Linked DNA regions of Homo sapiens: region 2 is linked to region 1. The links are contacts of gene promoters, found by promoter capture Hi-C in human tissues and cell types (Jung and others, 2019). All regions are on one chromosome and are shown on one strand. The core of a region is centred on a gene start or on the middle of the fragment in contact, and the rest is flanking DNA. Distances in the headings are between cores, read along the strand shown. Region 1 holds the start of TMEM240 (transmembrane protein 240). Region 2 holds the start of MIB2 (MIB E3 ubiquitin protein ligase 2).

Evidence for each region. Contacts are between HindIII fragments. The study calls those that stand out against the background at their distance.
Region 2: a contact is called between the fragment with the promoter of MIB2 here and the fragment with the promoter of TMEM240 in region 1, in 1 of the 25 tissues and cell types used here (adrenal gland).

The regions. Positions count from the first base shown.
Region 1 is chr1:1,539,062-1,542,051 of GRCh38, forward strand. It overlaps TMEM240 (transmembrane protein 240), which reads right to left and starts at 1,563. Exons shown (of 4, transcript NM_001114748.2): 1 at 1,229-1,563; 2 at 623-729. The coding sequence starts at 1,285. It overlaps SSU72 (SSU72 homolog, RNA polymerase II CTD phosphatase), which reads right to left. Exons shown (of 5, transcript NM_014188.3): 5 at 2,612-2,990. RefSeq lists a silencer at 148-442. The HindIII fragment of the contact is 20,414 bases long and covers 1-2,990 here.
Region 2 is chr1:1,613,922-1,616,911 of GRCh38, forward strand. It overlaps MIB2 (MIB E3 ubiquitin protein ligase 2), which reads left to right and starts at 1,579. Exons shown (of 20, transcript NM_001170687.4): 1 at 1,579-1,712; 2 at 2,587-2,693. RefSeq lists an enhancer at 1,074-1,243 and silencers at 1,344-2,393, 2,424-2,513. The HindIII fragment of the contact is 4,042 bases long and covers 57-2,990 here.

The sequences.
Region 1 (2,990 bases), core at 313-2,812:
GAGAAGATGTTTATTTCGTACATGGACGTACAAACATGCATGGCCAAGAGGATCCCATCGCTACACGTGCACAGAGGGGGTCACACGGTGGGTGCGGGGGGTCTGGGCGCTCCCCTCAATCTGAATGACCTTGAGGAAGCTCCACCTCCCCGCTGCCCCCCCAGCCCATCCCTCAGCTCCTCTCCAGCCCGGGGGTGGTGCCCAGTGCCCCTCAAGGCAGGCCCTTCCCGCCTTGACCTGCATTCCCCTGCCCAGGGACTCAGTGCAGGGCCCAGCCCTGTGCCAGCAGGCGCTTCCTGCCCCAGCCCTGATGAGGCTGGCTTGGGTCTCCACTGTGGACATCACACTGGGCTGCGGCTTTCCGGCCTCCAGGCTGGACCAGGAGGCCCCGTGACCCATTCCGCCATCACCCTGGAGGCCTCTAGGAACGGCGTCCTAAAGCCATGCGCCCCCAGGAGACCCCCGCCCACCTTGAGACAGCTCCTCCCCCTGCGCACCTGGCAGCCCTCAAGGGTGGAAGGCGGCTCGCGGCCTGCGTGGGGCTGGTTCCCCCGCGCCCCGAGTGGGCCCCGCCACACATGTGCGCTCACGCGTGTCGAGCCGGCGCCGGTTGTGGACTCACCGGCCACAGTTGCAGTGGCAGACGCGGTCCTCGCCCCGCAGGTGCGGGAGGATGTAGTTGTGGAATCGGTCCAGCAGCGCGTTCATGTCCATCAAGCACGCGATGGCCTGGAAGAGCTCATGACCGGTCAGCGCCAAGGAGCGGGCGGGACGAAGCGGGGCTGGGGGTGGGGAGCGCAGGCCGGGGTCGGGGCAGCGCAAGCGGGGAGCGAGAGCGCAGGCCGGGGTGAGGGGAGCGTAGGCCTTGGTAGGGGGAGCGCAGCGGGTATGGGGATCGCAGGCTGGGGAGGGGAGCGCAGGCCGGGGTGGGGGGAGCGCAGGCCCGGGAGGGGACCGCGGGCCGGGGAGGGGGAAGCGCAGGCCGGGGTGGGGGGAGCGTAGGCCGGAGAGAGGAGCGTAGGGAGTGTGGGGATCGCAGGTTGGGGAGGGGAGCGGAGGCCGGGGTGGGGGAGCGCAGGCCGGGGAGGGGAGCGCAGGCCGGGGAGGGGAGCGCAGGCCGGGGAGGGGAGCGCAGGCCGCACGGGCGGTAAACAAGGCGCGGGAGGTGGGCCAGGCGGCGCGCGCGGGCGGGGAGCAGGGGGCGCGCGCGGGAAGCCCCTCCGCTCACCATCACGACCGACGCCCCCAGAATCATGAAGATCATGGTGTTCGCGCTCATGGACATCGGGCGGGGCCGGGCCGGGCCGGAGCGCCGCCCCCCGGCCCCGGCGCCCCCCCGGCCCCGGCCCGATGCTGAGCCCCCGCCGCCTCCGCAGAGGTCAGCGCTTCCCTGGATCGTCCGCCGCCGCTCGCTGCAACCCCGGCACCGGCCGGGGGGAGGAGGCGCGGGGGGGGGGGCGCCGGGGAGGGACGCGGGGCCTTTCTGGGGTCTCTCGGCCCGGCCCGCCGCGCTCCGCTCCGCCCTCGGGTCCTCCCTGCGATGCGCTCGGCTCGGCTCGACTCGGCTCCGCTCGGCTCCGGCCCCCTCCCTGCCTCCTCCTCCCTCCTCCCCCCTCCCTCCCCGCCGCCTTCCTCCGCCTCTCGGGAGGGACCGCGCAGACCGCAGGCCGCCCCGTGCCAGCGCCGGGAGGAGACCGCCATCCCCCGGACGCCGGCCGGGACCCCTCCCCGGGAGCCTCGGCTTCGCGTCCCGCCCCAGTCTGGTCAGACCCAGCCCCGGTGGCCTGTCCGGTGACCCTGGACGCCAGTCCTCCGGTCCTGGAGGGGCGCCGAGGCCCTTCCCGCCCCACTGCTCCGCCCTACGTCCTGGACTCCCAGGTCGCCGGGTGCGGGACTGCCCCAGTCCGCTCGGCACGCACGTGCCTCCAGGGTGGGGTCCGCAAGGTCGCGACAGCCCCACGGCCGTGGGGGCCACAGGTCAGGGACGGGATGACCCCTGGAATCCTCAACGGAGGGATGTGGCACAGGAGCCGAGGGCAGGGCCGCCCCGCACAGGCTTCCCTTAGGGCGGGGACGAGGGGGTCAGCCCAGGCCCATGGGTCGGGACGCCGGCCATTCAGAGGCCCAGTGGCCACCACTCCGCTGTGGCTGTCCCTGGCTCGGGGTCCTGAGGCCAAACTCTCATCCACGACCGGTGACCATGTCTCAGGCCCGGGAGCCGACCCCCGGCCTCAGCAGGAAGTCAGCGGGAAGCTATGCCTGGGACCCAGCCTGGGTCGTGGCGCCATCCAGGCTCACTGCAGCCTCCACTCCTGGGCTCAGGCGATCCTCCCGGCTCAGCCTCCCCCGTAGCTGGCCTTGGGGGATCCCCGCCCGGGGGGGTTCCACATGGAGAGGGGACGCCGCTCCACCACAGGCAGCAGTTGTGGCAGGAGCAGGCGGCTTCCGCTTCAGGCAGCACAGGCACGGGTAGGCCCAGACCCTGTCAGCACCACCAGGTCTGAGCTACTCCTCCCAAGCAGTGGTCGGAGGTCACTGAGGGCGGCAGGGCTAGGCCTCTGCCACCTCCTCAGGGGCGAGGGTCGGGCCAGGAATTCAGGACCAGGCACAATGACAGCAGCATCTGTTTATTGACAATTCCAGGTCATTCCTAACACGCCGCAGCAGGGCTCTGTACAGTCCGGCCCGGTGGGGAGGAGGGAGGGAAGGCAGGCACACGAAGACACAGGTATGTCGGGAAGTGCACACAAACCGTTGTCTTTCCTTTTTGGTTAAAGAAGAAAAACTTTGTAATCAATATCCTGCTCATAAGTAAAAGTGGAAAAGAAGAAACTTGATTGCTTTCATCTGGCGTTTTGGCATCTCCTCTCCCATTTCATATGCACAGTTTATTTGGGTAATGCTACCGTCACCAGCAGAACACCTGTAAGTAAAAACAAATGTCAGGAAGGAAAAAGTATGAACAACAGGAAGCTCCAGAGGCGGCTCCA
Region 2 (2,990 bases), core at 329-2,828, 75 kb after region 1:
ACACAACGGATGTGTTTGAGCCTTTGGAAAACGGTATCGTTAGGCATGTGGCGAAAACGTTGGGGTACTTGAAAAAAAGGCTGGCCATGGGTTAGTAAAAAGCTAGATATGTGAAAATATTAGGTAATTATTAACTCAAAAGAAAAAAAAAGATTGTACAGGAATTGTGGCATGGTTTTATACTGTAGCAGTGAACAGCAGGTACTCAATCATGAAGAGCTAAGCCTGATTTCATCACGACAGCTGTGAAAGTTGCAGGTACCAAAATGGAACTACTTCCACCAATCCCTAAACAAATGGAGTCGGGAGGCCACGAAGGGGGAGCTCTCATGCAGGAATACCTGCAGCAGGCCTCCTCACAAGACGCTCCTGCACGTCCTGCACGTTTGCCTGTAACCGGACTTACTGCAGGGAAATTCCTCAGGACTGCAGTATTCTAGATAAGCAGCTTGCACAAGGACGTCGGCCTGGTAAGGCTCTCTCCAACAACAAGCTAACGCCCACTCCTGCAGCAAGCGCCCACAGCCAGTGGTTTTTGTTACAAAACAACTTTTGTGAGCTCATCTGTATTTTCCCCTTCGCCCGGCCCTCTCAGATAGGCCTATGATCTGTCATGGCACGAACAGCCTAGGCTGCAACCCCCTGCGATTCCCAGATTAACTCACTTGTCCTGGAGAGCCTGCCTCTGGGTTTCCTTTCAGGTTGACAGTTTGGGAGCTAACAGGACCACGTGAGGGGTGCAGCGGGGAAGATCAGCCAGGTTCTCAGGGACCTTCTCCGGAAGTACGCAATGTCTACAATTAAGAAATGAGAGGCCGGGCGCGGTGGCTCACGCCTATAATCCCAGCACGTTGGGAGCCCTAGGAGGGCAGATCACGAGGTCAGGAGTTCGAAATCAGCCTGGCCAAAATGGTGAAACCCCGTCTTGACTAAAAATGCAAAAATTAGCTGTGCGTGGTAGCGCATGCCTGTAGTCCCAGCTGCTCGGGAGGCTGAAGCAAGAGAATAGTTTAAGCCCTGGAGGCGGAGGTTGCAATGAGCCGAGATCGCGCCATTGCACTCCAGCCTGGGCGACAGGGCGAGGCTCCGTCTCCAAAAAAAAAAAAAGAAAGAAAGAAAGAAATGAGAAACTAGCAGTGCATTGTTCAGAAACGCGGAGACTTCTCTCAGGAGAAAGCGAGAAGCAAGCGTCCAACTCTGGGGTGCAGAACCCGGGGCGGGAGGACGGGCCCGGACTGCCGTTTCTCGCTGTGTCCAGGTCTGCGTGACTCAAAACCCCGGATAGGGCCCGCACTGGTGGAGTCGGAAAGAGGTGGCTGCGGCGCGGCAAGTGCCGCCAGTGCCAGCGAGCGCGACGTCGCTCCCAAGCCCCCGTCTCTATGGCAACCGAGTGCGTCTCTAGGACCGCCACTGCGCAGGCGCCCGGAGGCTAAGCCGCTCGGAACCTAGCTGCGCCACGCAGGGTAGGCGACGCAGACGCTCCCGCGTGACGCACTTCCGGTGCTTGCCCTGCCCATCCCCGTGGCGGGGGCGTGGCCATGGCGGGGGCGCTCCGGCGGGGGCGGGCCCTGGGCTCCCGCCCTTCGGGTCCCACAGTTTCCAGCCGCCGCTCTCCTCAGTGCCCGGTGGCCCAGGAGGGCCTGGGAGCCCGAAGCCGTCCCCGAGTCGCTCCTAGGTCACTGGCGCGATGCGGGCCGTCCTCTCGGCTGATGGTGCGTGCGGGCGCGGATCTCCTCCCCTGGTCCTCCGCACCGTCCCCGAGTCGTTCTCCGCTCTGGCAGAACGCGAGCGCCGTCCGGTTCCCGCTCCCGCTGGCCCAGCAGCCCCGGGCTGGACTCGGCGTAGGGTCCGCACGGGATGGGCTGGGGCTGCGCGCGCAGCGCCGCCGCGGGGCCTCCTGGGAGTTGTGGTCCGGCCACCCGCGCGGGACTCCAGCTCCCGGCAGGCCTCGCGCGGCCCGGGGCCAGCGGCGCTGGGGTCGGCGCTGGGGTCGTCGTCCGGGCCGGGTGGGCTGCGGCGCGCGGCAGGCGCTCTGGCCTGGCCTGGCCGCCGCTGAGCAGTCGGGGCCGGTGGGTGGCCTCGAACGCCGGGACAGACCGACAGACGGACTGGCCGGCGGTCCCGCGCCCCCGAGCGGAGCGGGCGGGACGGAAACGTCCGGGCAAGTTGGGGTCGGCAGGTACTGCGCGGCCCTGGCAAGGTCTGGCAGCGGACAGGGCCGGGCGGCCTCCGCGAGCCACGGGCACGAATGACAGGGGGCGGGGCGCGCTCCGGGTGGGGGTGCCCGCCGTGCCCGCCCCTGGCCCGCCCGTTCCCCTGCGCCGGCGCCCGTGCGCGTCCCGGAGCCTCCTGACGTCTGCGAGCCGCGGCCGCCAGACCCCGGGCGCACGCAATTACGGGCCCGGCGCTGGCGGCTCCTGCGCGCTCAGACCCCAGGGAGCCCATCCGGGCAGGCGGCGGCCCTGAGTGTCGCGGCCGTGGGCCCGAGTGGACCTGGAGCCGGCGGGCAGCCCCGGGGGCAGACAGGCGACCGAGCCGCGGGTCGAGGTGCTAACTGTGCATCTTGGCATCTCCCCTCGGCCACAGGGTTGGAAGCCCAGCGAGGCTAGAGGCCAGTCCCAAAGTTTCCAGGCATCAGGGCTGCAGCCCAGGAGCCTCAAGGCGGCCCGGCGGGCGACTGGACGGCCGGACAGGTGAGCTCTTGATCGTCCGCGGCCTGATAGTTTGCACTTGGCTCTCCCACTTTGGGGCTCCGTGGAAGCCACGTCAGAGAGGCTGTGTTTGTGTCTGAGCATGCATGCGAGTGGAGGGGAGTGGTGAGTAATCCCGCGTCTCCTCTCTGAGTTCGGAACCCATGGAGGAAGAAAGCAGAGGTGCCAGACAGGCCTCTGATAGGCACCTGCAGGATTGGGGCAGAGCGGCCGCAGCGCAGGAGCGCCGGCAAGCCTGGCCCTTCCCGGGAGGCCCCCTTTGTCCGGTTCCACCCTGGC